Regions from separate parts of the Homo sapiens genome. Here all the other regions are linked to region 1. The links are contacts of gene promoters, found by promoter capture Hi-C in blood cells and fetal thymus (Javierre and others, 2016). All regions are on one chromosome and are shown on one strand. Each heading gives the region's core, a stretch centred on a gene start or on the middle of the fragment in contact. The rest is flanking DNA. Distances are from core to core; before and after follow the strand shown. Region 1 holds the start of GLRX2 (glutaredoxin 2). Region 2 has its middle 17 kb from the start of MIR4426. Region 3 overlaps LOC105371664 (a long non-coding RNA gene). Region 4 overlaps LOC105371665 (a long non-coding RNA gene). Region 5 overlaps LOC105371664 (a long non-coding RNA gene).

The links. The method cuts DNA at HindIII sites, captures the fragments that hold promoters and counts their contacts. A CHiCAGO score of 5 or more calls a contact.
Region 2: a contact is called between a fragment that was not itself captured here and the fragment with the promoter of GLRX2 in region 1, in 1 of 17 cell types (neutrophils). The highest score is 6.0, in neutrophils.
Region 3: a contact is called between a fragment that was not itself captured here and the fragment with the promoter of GLRX2 in region 1, in 1 of 17 cell types (neutrophils). The highest score is 6.2, in neutrophils.
Region 4: a contact is called between a fragment that was not itself captured here and the fragment with the promoter of GLRX2 in region 1, in 1 of 17 cell types (monocytes). The highest score is 7.4, in monocytes.
Region 5: a contact is called between a fragment that was not itself captured here and the fragment with the promoter of GLRX2 in region 1, in 1 of 17 cell types (total B cells). The highest score is 5.8, in total B cells.

Annotation. Positions count from the first base shown.
Region 1 is chr1:193,104,053-193,106,752 of GRCh38, forward strand. It overlaps GLRX2 (glutaredoxin 2), which reads right to left and starts at 1,362. Exons shown (of 4, transcript NM_197962.3): 1 at 1,212-1,362. The coding sequence starts at 1,330. RefSeq lists silencers at 1,151-1,250, 1,227-1,521, 1,301-1,540. The HindIII fragment of the contact is 5,966 bases long and covers 1-2,700 here.
Region 2 is chr1:192,698,233-192,700,932 of GRCh38, forward strand. No RefSeq gene overlaps it. Among named protein-coding and RNA genes, the nearest start is that of MIR4426, 17 kb to the right of the region's middle. The HindIII fragment of the contact is 2,300 bases long and covers 301-2,600 here.
Region 3 is chr1:192,592,743-192,595,442 of GRCh38, forward strand. LOC105371664 (a long non-coding RNA gene) reads right to left here. Exons shown (of 5, transcript XR_002958418.2): 3 at 857-915. Among named protein-coding and RNA genes, the nearest start is that of RGS1, 18 kb to the left of the region's middle. The HindIII fragment of the contact is 3,349 bases long and covers 1-2,700 here.
Region 4 is chr1:192,787,676-192,790,375 of GRCh38, forward strand. All of the region lies in intron 1 of LOC105371665 (a long non-coding RNA gene), which reads right to left. Among named protein-coding and RNA genes, the nearest start is that of RGS2, 20 kb to the right of the region's middle. The HindIII fragment of the contact is 744 bases long and covers 890-1,633 here.
Region 5 is chr1:192,616,643-192,619,480 of GRCh38, forward strand. All of the region lies in intron 2 of LOC105371664 (a long non-coding RNA gene), which reads right to left. The region is part of intron 1 of LOC107985241 (a long non-coding RNA gene); the gene reads left to right. Among named protein-coding and RNA genes, the nearest start is that of RGS13, 18 kb to the right of the region's middle. The HindIII fragment of the contact is 1,035 bases long and covers 1,035-2,069 here.

The sequences.
Region 1 (2,700 bases), core at 112-2,611:
CAGCACTTAAACTGTCATACCCAAACCATCTACTACAGCATTTACTACTGAAGGAGCTCCAATAGAACACAAGAGAATGTTTTCTTGGGTAGTGAGAGGAGGTAGGAGGTGCATTCTGAAATATTACCCAAATAAAAGTTTCTGGAAGACACCCTTTCCCTTCAATTTCTAGTTGACCTTGGTAAAAACTGTCGCGAACTATGAATAGAAACATGCACGGAGGAAGTAAGTGCACAATAAACATTTCATTTCAACACAGATGAAGCACCTAGTCATGCCACATTTATGGAGCGCCTACTGTGTGCTAAGTAGGCAAAGTGCTATATTGACCCCAGGGATACGCAGAAAAAAACACGGCGGGGCCTCAAAGAGCTGTCAAACACTTAACAGCCTGTGATTAGCCCTTCAGGAGGGGTCTCTAGCTTGGTCTGGAAAGTTAAACTTGAGATTCCTAGAATCTTGCAAAACTGATAGAAGCTCCCAGATCAAGTAGATAGCGAGACAGACTCTCCGGCCAAGTGCGCAGTGGCAGGCGCGGAAGTGCGAGCCGGCAGGACCGCCAGGCACCAGCCGCGCGGGCGTGGGCAGCACAGCCGCAGTTCCCTTCCACTGCAGGTCCCGAAGCCGCTGATATTCCAAACGAGGAAGTGTAAGGAAAGCACTATCCTCGGTCTAGCCGCAGGCGGCATCACCATCAGTCAGCCTCTATCCTAAAAGCTCTGGCCATTCAGCGGGAATCATCGCCTTCACTTCCTGCAGTAGGGTGGCTAAGTTTAGCAAACAAGAATGCAGGACGCCCGGTCAAATTAGAATTGTAACCAAACACCAGAAAACTGTTCCGTTTTTCCTATGTCCACTGCAGTATTTGGGACACACTTGGACTAAGAATCATTCGCTCTTTCAGAGAAATTCCAATTGATTGCGGCGTCTTGTATTTTATGTAGCAATTCACAGAGGGATGGCCTAAGTGAACATGAGTGAAGTATTTTCAACGCGAGAGTCACAGGCTCCTGAAGTCAGCACAGCCGCGGAGGGCACCCTTCCCTGCCCATCCCTCGAGCGCCTCTGCGTGTTATGACTCAGAGCCCACGCGCTAGTACGCCTCGCCCACCCGGCGCCGGGGCAAAGGGGCACCTCCGCCCACCGCTTTCTCCAGACCCCCGCAAGGCCTGCGCACCACGCCGCGGCACTCCTGCCCGCTGACCCCGTACCCAGAGGCCGCAGCTGCCGCAGCTCCCGCAGCTCCCGCCGCCCTGTCAAGCCAGCCTGCCGAGCCGCTCCTGCTCCAAACCAGCCGCGTCCCCGCCAGCGCCGCGCGGCGCCAAATCATGGTCAGAGCCCGGATCTGCAGCGAGCTCTACTGCCGGACACCGCGGATCCCGGGAGCCCGCCTCCTCCGGCCCGGCCCCCGCCTTGCCCCGCCCCGTCCCGCCCCTCCGGACTGCCCGCGCCGCCGCCGGTCACCTCCTCGCAGCTGAGCGCGTCCTCCCAGGGCTGCCCGAGCGCTGGATTCCAGCGAGTGCCACCCACGTGTAAACATCCTTTAGAGGGGAGAAGCGGCTCACTTGCTTATCTCGAGGGTTCATCCGAGCCCCGCCTCTGGATTCTTTTAGGTTTAGGGACGCTCATAAAGGCTCCCAGGCACTTGGAAGCAGTGCATGAGGATGGTGGCAGACATGCTGGGGAAACGGAGGAGAAAAAACATGACCATCCAAAACAGAATCAAAGTGGTGCCTCAGATGTTTCCAACTACCTGTTACACAAGTTTTTGTGTGGATGAAATAAGAGCCTAAATATATCCTCTTATAATTAGGCAATTGGTCGAGACCCAATGTAAATTATGGGGATATTGGGGTTTACATCCATAATTAAAAGAAAAAATCCGGTGTTGAAGGTTTACTCCAAAGAAGACAAAGATTATTTCCCACCACCTGCCAAAAAAAAAAAATTAGGAAACAAAACAAAAGAAATTAGCACAGAGATGTTTCACCATGGCTTTGGAAATGGGCGATTGCTGTTGACAGGATTATTTAAGCCACTCAGTGGTGGTAATAATAGCCTTTGTGCGTCACTATTTAAGGTTGGGGGTAAGCCTTTATTTACTGAGGACACTGAAATTCATCTTAAAGTCAAAGGTCAAATGGTACATCTAAAATTCTAAACAATTATTACAACAATCCAGAGCTTTTTTGATTCTTCATGTTCAACTAAGTGTAAAATTCATGTTACCAAAGTACAAAATAAGAACTTGTATTTCTGACAGTTCTTTTCCAACATTCAAATGGGCTATGTTTGATTACTTAATAAAAGGATGGAAGTTAGTTGCAAAAATAAATACCCCCAAAGGGTAGGAATTCATTCTTTTTAAAGACAAATTTGACTTTGAAAATTAAGGCATGTGGCCAGGCGCGATGGCCTGTCCTGTAATGTGGCCATTACAGGACTGCCCGCTGACCCCGTACCCAGAGGCCGCAGCTGCCGCAGCTCCCGCAGTGGCCAGTCCTGTAATCCCAGCACTTTAGGAAGCCGAGGCGGGCGGGTCACCTGAGGTTGGGGGTTCAAGACCAGCCCCTCCAATATTGGTGAAACGCCGTCTCTACTAAAAATACAAAATTAGCCGGGCGTGGTGGCGCATGCCCGTAATCCCAGCTACTCGGGAGGCTGAGGCAGGAGAATCGCTTGAATCCATGAGGCAGAGTT
Region 2 (2,700 bases), core at 201-2,700, 410 kb before region 1:
GTCCCCAGTCTTAGAAGATACCTTCTCCACTGCGCTACTCAAATGTGACCCATGCTTTAAGACAAGACAGCACCAAGAATTTCAAAAAGCAAATGAAGCTCTCAGAAGTGATTTATTTGGACCACGTAAATGTGGGCTACAGATTTCTGTAGACCTCACAGCTCTAGGGTATTACACTTTCTCATTCTTCCTACTTATCTCATTTATGTTATCTGCCTGGCCCTATGAGAATTTACATTAATACTTAATAATAAGTTTTAATTCATAATAAGCCTAATAAGCTTCATAATAAGCCTAATAAGCTTCATAATAAGCCTAAATCATCCTTCCAAGAAATTGTCCACTGTGATGTCCATATTGACCTCTTCCTTTTCAGGAGAAGTTTTATGCTATGAAGAAAACTAAAAAAATTCAACACAACTCGAGTACTAAAATTTCTCACAACTTAATGGCTCCTGTTAAGAGAAGCAAAGTATTAAAACAGTGTACTAAAGTCAGCTGTTCTTTAAAATAGTCACAGAAATTATGTTATCAGACTGGCAAAAAAAAAAAAAAAAAAAATGCTCACCTGGGTCAATATGAGCCATCCTGCAATTTTTGAAAGACCAAAGACCACATAAAACAGAGCTTTTTTTTTTTTTGCTGTGTCACCCAGGCTGCAGTGCAGTGATGCAATCTGGGCTGCAACTTCGCCTCCTGGGCTCAAGCAGTCCTCCCACCTCAGCCTCCTGAGTAGCTGCGACCACAGGCGCATGCCACCACGTTCAGCTAATTTTTATATTTTTAGTAGAGACGGAGTTTCGCCATGTCGCCCGGGCTGGTCTCGAACTCTTGGGCTCAAGCGATCCACCTGCCTCAGCCTCCCATAGTGCTGGGATTACAGGCATCAGCCACCGCATCCAGCCAAAGACAAGGTTCTTAACAAGTATTGTGTGAGTGTTCTTTTACAAAGCAGATATAAACCTGTGTGTAATAGGCAAAGGGTATATAAAGGTGATGATTTTTCTGTGAACTACTAACTCTTTTTTTTTCTAACTCTCTTTAGTCCCTAAAAATAAACCCTATCATATTAAATCAAGAACATCATAAGTAAATGTTGGCAAAATACAGTTAGGTGAACAGTGGCTGTTCTCAAAAAGGCTCAATAAACATAGTAGAAGTTATAACAAATTAATGATAAATAAAGCACAGTGAAAATGTAGTGATATATCTGTGCATATTTATAAATGTGTGTTAAATTATTTAAAAGAGATTCTACCTGAGTCTAGTTTATAACATGTAAGATTTTAGTTTTCTCTAAAATACAATTGAGATAAAAATTTAGCAATACTTTATTAAGATATGACCTTCATATTTATTTTATCTCAAAAGTTTTTTAACAGGACAAAAAGCACTTTCCAAACTGAATTATATATATTAGGAAAGTCCATATATGTGTGAAGATCTTTATTAACTATCAGGATTTTTGTAAATATAAATTATGTCCATTGATTATCTCACTCCTTTAGTTTTCCAACTGAAATAGTTCTACTTCTCCTTTTTTCTATGATTATATCAAACACTTTACAGTGCTTCAGCAAAGCTATACACCCCCTGCCCCAAAAGGAGAAAATTTCCTTTTAGATAATATGGCATTTTTCAAAAGAAAAGGGAAGGACAAAAGAACTTAATACTTATCATGTGCCTACTGTGTTCAGTTCTATGTAAGACACCTTCAAAAATTTTTATAACCTTACAATAATCATCAGAGAGAGGCAGTATTACATTCAGTTTATAGATAGAAAAATGACGTCTCAGAGAATTTAAGAATATTGTCTAATCTCTTAAATGGAAAATGTGGAATTCAACTGAAGCATATCTGACTCCAGTCTTTGGTTTTTGAACTATTCATACCGGTCATCAGTTTTCTCCTTCTTTGCAAAAGAATCTTGCCTATAGTGGTCAGTCGGGTCCACTTAGTTCAGTTATCTGTATATTAAATAATACCCCAAATATTCCCTTTTCCAGCATTTTATGAGATACCCAAAACTTTAATTGATAATGAAAATAATAAATAATCCTAAGTATTAATAAGTTACATATTGATATGTTTAGAAATATTTCTATATATATGAATGCATTAAACAAATAGGTCATATGCATAGCATTCATGATAAGTATTTGGTAGATAAAAATGAGGATCTGAATAAACTTCCATGTCCTTCTCACAGTGGAACTGGTAAAACACTTTAGCTGGTAAAACAGTAACTGGTAAAACACTTAGCCATACTAATGGCTAATAAAATAGTCTGTTCTGGTGTGAATTTCTCTTTTATTTAGCATCTTGTTTTTCTTTAGTGGGTAATTCACTGGTTTTGTGCAATCCTAATCTACTATGAACATTGATTTCTTGAGTATCCAGATATTATTTTCAGAATCTAGTTTTTCACATGCTGAAAGTTCAAGTTTGAGATCCATCACTACATGGCAATAATATTTACTCATGATGAAAATATTTGCCAGTCACTATGTTAAATATCTTGCATTTACTGTCTTATATCCTATTTACAAAACCTTGCAAGGTAGATATTTTTACTTCCTTTTGTAGTTGAAAAAACTCAAGCTTATGGGGATTTTGTAAATTCTAAACTCACACAGTTGGGAAATGGTGAACTGTAATTCAGATGCAGACTGTCTAATTCTAAGCTGCATACTCACCCA
Region 3 (2,700 bases), core at 32-2,531, 510 kb before region 1:
TGGTTTCTGTTTCTCTCATTTGGGCATTTGTTTATCCAGTTTCTGAGGTAGGATGATGTTGTATTTCTGCTAGGCTCTTTTCCAAAGATGAATCTCCTTGGCCTGGGTTACTTTCTTTTCCCATTTATTAAAATGAACTCACGCCTCAGCCTCTAGAACGTAATTATGACAGAAACAGTTTCTAATTACAGCAGTTCACATTTATTCCAGGACGATGCCTGACTTTAACAACTTTGTTTACTCACATAAAGCAAAAGCTAAATCCTTGCTTTTAGTTGTATCATTAAAAAAATGTCACTGGTAAAATGAAGCATCTTCCTTTAATGCTCTGAAGTCTAAATTGAGAACATTTACAAAAGCCTCTGAGGGCTCCTGACCATAGGAAGGACATTACTCAGTCAACAAGGACCTATTAAATATCTGTTCTACACCAATAGTGTCTGAGAGGAAATATGAGGCAGGAAAGCATTATAAATGGGCTTTCTGCCTAACTAAGTGATTTCTCATCCACTCTAGGAGAGGGAAACAAAAAGCCACACTATTGTATTCCACTATCTGGAATCCTAGAATGTCATATCTAGAAAGGAGATCAGAAGTTGTCTAACCTACTCTTCCCATTTGTAGATTATGAAGCCCCAGTGCAAAGAGATTAAATGGTTTATTCTAGGACACCCTAGTAATAAAGTCACAAAGGTAAAATTAAAAATGAGTAGACAGAGCACAGGAGCCTGACTCAGATGCAAAAGTTTCGTAACCTGTCCCATGCTGTCTCCCTGACTCTCTTGGTCCATTTATGTAACTGTAACAGAGTAGCTGAGACTGGGTAATTTATAATGAACAGAAATTTATTTCTTACCAGTCTGGAGGCTGGGAAGTCCAAGATCATGATGTAAGCATCTGATGAGGGCTTTCGTCCTGCATCATCCCATGGCAGAAGGCAGAAAGGCCAAGAGAGGGCAAGGACAAGGGAGACAGAAAATAAAGAAGGGTCAAACTCCCCCTTTTATAACAAACCTACTTTTGCAATATCTATATTAATTCATTCACTCAGCTCTTATGGCCTAATTACCTCTCATTAGGCCCCACTTCCCAAAACAGTTGCTTTGGGGATTAAGTTTCCAACACATGATTTTGGGAAGACACATTCAAATCATAACACTGACTAAAACTAGTACAGAAAATTGTAACATGGTAACTATTTCAGTAATACTTTGGAAATACAATGCTCTAGTAATATTTCAGTAATGCAATGCAGCAGACCGTTGCCTGTTTTCATTAACTACACTAGAACAGAACAGTTTACTGTGTTCAGAATTACACATCCATAGCAAAGCTATGACCTACAAACGTTCTCAAGGTGAACGTGTCAATAACACTATATGAATTTTTGAACAATAACTAACAGAGCCTCACTGTGTATCTAGCTAGTGAGTCTTCTGCATACCAGCATCAGGTAAATTGCTTTATTCCAACTCCTCGTTAACAGTCACTAATAGCCGATACACTGATATACCACTTAGATATTTCCAATTATCTCATAGTCTATCTGTGTAATTTGATGAGCTATTATCCTCAAAGCTAGAAAAAAAGTGAAACTCTACTAGACATTTCTGAGAAAATTGCTGCCAGTAATTTGAATGTGTTGCATCGACTAAGTGAATTGAGCAAAATTTATCTTCCCTTTTACTTTTCCCTCATCTTTATTCTGCTTTTCTATCATTTCTCACCTTTCTCTCTACCTGCCCTTACCCTTAATCAATATCTACTTTGATTCATTAGAAAAGCATTATTCATTTCCACAGCATTAAATTGTCCACCTTCAGAGCATTTAATCATTACCTGTTTTTCAAAATGACTTGTGTGACCTACACCTAAACACTGCAGTGAAAAATGGTCTAGATCTTCTTTTGTGCCCCCACTCTCCCCAAACACAGGCTTATCACAGCACTGCTAACATATATTTGTATAATTTATTTAAATGATACTGCAATGGACTGTAATATCTTTGAAGGGAAAATGTCATATTCATTTTTGCATCTCAACTCCCTATCATTCCTGGCAAATATGCGTGTTTGCAAAATGAATGATAATATCACTCAATTCATCAATAACCTTTAACAACAGTGTTTACTATAATATTTGGGTTGGAAATGTGAAAGGAAGACAAAAACTGAACAGTTCCTGTGGGTAGCTAAAACAGAGGAGAAAGGGAAAAAACATTCTCCTTTGGTTCAGTAGCAGTTTTCCATGGAATAGAAAACATTGCAATCTTTACTCAGGTATTATATGTTTTTCTGGATGAAAGTCTTATTTTGGGTTGCATTATTTTCATCATTTGCAATAAATGTATGCCCTTTTAATGAGACTTTGTGTTTAATCTTATTGTTCTCTTACCATAATTATCGTATATCCGATAGAAAGAGTTTTTCCTCAGAGCAGATTAGAATCACAGGGGACAGAAAGAATATGGGTGGAAAAGAGAAGACGTTCTGCATAAGAAAGGGTACAAAGTTGCTATAGCAGTTCTTGAAAGAAACTGATAGCTACAAATTGAGAAAAGAAAGAAAGAATAAAGGAGAGAAAGGGGCCAGAAAACTCAATAGGGGTAGGGAGCAGGAGGGGTAGGGAGGAGGAGGAGGTAGGGAGCAGGAGGGGTAGGGAGGAGTAGGGGTTAGGGAGGAGGAGGGGTGGGGAGGAGGA
Region 4 (2,700 bases), core at 12-2,511, 320 kb before region 1:
TACCAAGTATTAGAATGAACAAAGTGTCAAGTCATGGAGTTAGGAGGACAAAACAAAATGCTAGGATAATACGGTTCACGTTGCATTTCGCATTTTTAAGAATATATTCCATGACTTCTAAAATTATTCCAAGACTTTACTACTCAAATCTTTCTTTTTTAGCATGTTTATTATGTTGTGATCCACGTCAATTTTATCTTCTCCAATTGTTAACTGGCCACATTCCCAAATTCTCATTTATCAATGGCTTTTCTGTTGACAACTTCATTAAATTCTACATCTTTTGCAAATTTTACTATTATGCTTTGAATTACATTTACATTGTATATGAGTGGTTTGTTAATCACCAAGACTAATAATAAGTGGGGAGGAGTTTTGGGTGGGAAATATATAGTCTTCTGTTCATTCATGAATATTTTCTTATGTGATGGCTTTGGGGCTCCCTGTGCACTCAATTTGGGGACTAAGGTAATGAATAATCAGAAAAGAAAGACACCCTATACCCTGTGAGTGTAAAAATGAGACTTTGTTTGGCACACAGTAAGCCTCTAATGGTTTCTTATTTGTATTTTTTAAAATAACGCAATAAGCAGAAGCCACTGGCAGAAACAAGGAGAGAAGAAAGGCGTAACGAATCAGTGATGGAACAGGAAGGAATCAACTGAGGGAAGCAAAGGGCTGCTGAGTCACAAGCATGACAGGCAACTAGAATCAGCCCGGGCTCCCCAGAGCTGCTGCTCATCCTGAACACTGCGGGCTTGCTCAGAATTTCCTGGCTGTCCTTTCAGACTTCGTGTGCATCGTGACAATACACCACTCTCACCTAACGGAATCTAAGGATGTCGCTACCCTGAAATAGCCAAATATTCCAGTTGAATCTATTTGTTAAAGCTTAGTCAACCAGATTTGTTTCTAAGGAGACACTGACAATAAAAATAAAAATGAAAAACAGAAAAACATTATTTTCCCTGCATAAAAGAGCCCTTTTCTTTTTAGATCTTCCTGAGTCTCAAAACTGTTCTCTTCCTTGAGTTTCAACAAATCCCAAAGGACTCTTTCTTCAACTTTCACATAAAAGAAAACAATTCCTTAATAATATATTAAGTGTATCATTAGCAATTTACAATTCACAAAGCATTGTATATCACATTTACAAACGGAGGGTTTAAATATAACAAACCCTGTAAATGGAATGTAGAAATGTTCATTTTTAATAAGATCCCTAGTTAACTAATCAATCCCTTATTTCACATTTTCCACTACTAAATGAGAATCCACTTCCAGTTTTACCTTTCTAGGAATATTTGTATGTCATCTAAAGTTGTGAGTGTTTGTTTGTTTGTTTGTTTATTTGTTTTGAGACAGGTTCTTGCTCTGTCGCCCAGGCTGAAGTCCTACAGCACTATTGCAGCTCACTGCGGCCTCGACCTCGTAGGCTCAAATGAACCTCCCACCTCAGCCCCCTGAGTAGCTGGGACTACAGGCACACACCACCACTCCTAGCTAATTTTTGTATTTTTGGAGACAGAGGGTTTCTTTATGTTGCCCAGGTTAGTTGTGTTTAAAAACTCTTTAGCCACACATACATGAAGAGTCTCTTGGTTTATTTCATAAATTACTAGTATCATCTATAAGCTTTTCATTCACTAATTCATTATTTTATTCAACAATTGTATATTGAGCAGACACTTACTATGTACCCAGTAATGCATTAGGGACTGGATCTCAGTAGCTTAACTTTCAGAGTCAAACTTTTGGAGACCATCATGACACAGCCAGGATAGCCATGAGGAGACCTGTTGATGGCAAACCAAGAGGAGCTTCCTAAGGAAACACTAAACGCATGTGACTAAATTCTACAGTAGAAAAATTACAGACTTGGAATTCAAATCCCAGCTCTGCCATTGACTTGCTTGCTATTGATTTGGGGCAGTGCCTTTGCCTCTCCAAACACCTATAAAATGGGAACAATAGCACCTATCTCATTGTGGCACCAGGGTAGGACATAATGGTAATATATGTGAAGCGTCTGGTCAGTCAACATCTAATAAGTGTTCAATAACAAACAACTGCTGTTCTTATGAAAGGGGGGTAGCCTTTTTTCTAAGGGAGGTTCTTGGAAACCCCAATATTATGTATTATTAACATTATTATTTTTAGATGGAAAAAACTTAAGCACAGAGAAGTTAAACCATTTATTCATGTAACAATTTTTTTAGCACTATGGGGGGTACTAATCTCTGCAAATACAGGATTCAGAGGACAGAGTTTGAACCCAGCGCATTCACTGTCTCACAGAGGAGACACAGGATAGTGCTAAGTGCCCCAGAAAGGGAAGAACAGGTTTGTGGGAAAACACAGAGAATGAGCTCATTCAGAATGCAGGGTAGAGTGGGTGACAAGGAGGCTCCCCAGAGGGAAAGTCCTAGTTGAGCTGGAAAGGAAGCATCCTGACCAAAGCCTGGCCTTGAAACCAAATCGCTGTCTCCAAGATCAGTGAACTTCCTACTATGCCAAAGCCTCTTTAATTAAATTCAATTAAATGTTTTCTTAGCACCCACTCTATGGAAAAGTCTGTCCTAGATGGAAACAAAGGTGAATCATTATAGTTCTTATCTCATGAAAGCAAAGGCAAATAAGACAGGCATTCAGATAACCAACTCAAAACATAAAGAGGCAAAAGAGAGTTTCATATTAAAA
Region 5 (2,838 bases), core at 302-2,801, 490 kb before region 1:
TACCAGCCCAAACTATTTTTACATTGATTCCTCACTTGAGAGTTTTAGGAGCTCATGGATAGGGTAAATTTAAATCCCATTACCATGATTACAAATTATCACAGAAGGCTTCATTTTTTTCATCTGCAGCCCAGGGCCAAGAGAGCTAAGCTTTCTTGTTGTCTCCTATGCCACTGGAAAGATATTTTCTAGTTCAACCTATTTCTGATGGTTATCCCTCTGAAAAACACAGATTAGAGGGTTGGTGGATCTCAATACAAACTTCCCACATGTACATGCATCATACCCCAGGTGCTAGCTTCCTTCTTTTTCCTTAACCAGGAAAGAAACAAAAAAGATTATTTGCCAGGCTGAGTCACAATTCCAGTTTTCCATCCTACCATTATGATTTTCAATTCCCACTTTGTATAGGAAATTGAGAATTTTCCTTTCTTACTAGTAAGAGCAACCATGAATTTAAAATAATTTTAAAACTATTTTAGCCAGAAAATCTCTTTGTTTTGTAATGGAAGCATTTTCAGTTACTTGGTTGGTTCAAAACATTGCTGGAAATAAAAATAGTCACCTTCTTTCCCATTCATTTACAATCTCCTTGAATTGACAGCAACAGTGTACATAAGCTAGGGGTAACTACAGATAAAATACTGCTTTCCATTATAAGTGAAAACACTGTTCTCAAATAATGGCCATGATCACTAATCTTTTAAAGGTATATATAGTGAATTGGCATTATCATGGGAAAATATTATCAGCAACAAAATAATATTAATAAAATTTATCAATTATTAAGCACTTGAGATGTATTAGTTATTACTAATCCTTATAATAATTTTCCTCAGAAAACTAACATTTATAATATAAAGTAACTTGTTCATAATCATGCACATAGTTTGATGACTCAGTTGGGAATATAGGTCCTTCTCTTTCTAACACCAAAATTGGTTATCTGTACATCAAGGGCTTCCATATGTCATAATTGACCATGATTCATGTTGCTTATTTGGGATTTGTTTATCTAGCAACTCTTTAACTCAAGCTTGCCCAAGTAAAACTCTCTATCTTTGTCTTGTTCGCTATATTCACGTCTATCAGCATGTATATGCAGAACTTATTTAATCTGTAAACCTGCCTAAATTGTTGCAAATAGAGATTAAAGTCATAAAAAATATGCAAAATGCAATTAAGCATACAGACTGTGTCTTATTTATCTGTATAATCTACTGTTTCACATAGTACATGACTTTTTAATACATAAAGTCAAAGTGATCTGAAAATACTTTAATTCCTAATATTGTAAATATTTATCTAAGTGCTTCATAAAGTACCTTATAGCTTACAATAAAATATATTATAAATACAATCTTTCTTATAAATATTGAAACATCAGTCCTTAGCACTATGTCTATAAAAACCTGGAACATTTATTTTATGCAAAAAAAAAGAGAACAGCTGAATTTTAAGATTTAAAAATTTAAAACCATAATCTGTCAAGTAATAAATGTGTGAAATTTCACTGGGGCCTGTTGTGGGGTGGGGGGAGGCGGGAGGGATAGCATTAGGAGATATACCTAGTGTTAAATGACGAGTTAATGGGTGCAGCACACCAACATGGCACATGTATACATATGTAACTAACCTGCACGTTGTGCACATGTACCCTAAAACTTAAAGTATAATTTAAAATATATATATATGAAATAAAAAAATAAGTGTGTGAAATTTAACAAATTTAAGTGTGCAAAAATCTTTATTTTTTTAAAGTGGACATATGTTCTGTCGGTAAGTTTAGACTTGCTATGAAATAAACCACAATGTAACTTAAGCCATGGAGTTCCGGGAGGACTGTGGCATCTTGATGTGATCCATGGCAATAACCAAAAAATAGGACACATTTCTGTCATCCCTCACCCTCCTCCACTTCCAGGATTGGCCTGGGACAGGAAGGTATAGCCACCCTGTGTTATAACTAAGTAACAAATATTAGTTTCCTGAGGAAAATTATTATAAGGATTAGTAATAACTAATACATTCCATTGCTTAGTAACTGGCTCTCATCTTCTCAGGAAAGAAGCTTCTTGCTGCTACTCAGACTTTTTTTCCCTTCTCTGATACTAAAACTCTTTATTTAACCTGGGAACAGAGGTGGAAAAATTTCTACTTGCCCCCAAAATTTATATTTTATATTCTGATTTAGGCATTTGAACTTTGAAAGCCCAGTAATCCTATTTTGTTGTTGTAGTTGTGTATCACCTGCACGCTGTGTATCATCCTTCCCTGAAGCAGTGGAAGCTGCAGGTCTGGCTGCCCAGATGTTTGGGATAGGTGGGAGTGGTAGAGTGTGGAAAGGTAAAGAAATTTTTAGAGAAAGAAAGTGATTTGCCTACTTGATCTACCAAGAAAAGACAAGTCGTGGAAGCCAATAAAAGTTGGCTTAAACAGGAGTAAAGATATTAGCTTGAACCACATAAAGTTATCCATATGCTACCATTTTTACCTTATAAAAACACAATTTCATATGGTTCAACCTAATAAAAGTGTTATGTTATGAGTCAGTTCATCTCACATAATGTATTCTCTCTTCAGCAGAAATCAAGGACCATTCTCAATCTTTATTTCCATGTTAAGGAGGAATATAATTTCCTTCATAATGCCATCCTAAGAGACTAGGGTTGTCAACTGTCCATCATCAAAGAGTTTTTCCATTTCATTATAATGTAAAGGCTATTTGGGCAGATTGTGAAGCCTAGGGAGTGGTACAGTATACTTTGGGGTATAAGAGTGTACACATTGAAGCCAGATGGCCTGGATTCTAACGCCCAATCCACAATCCACTATTTG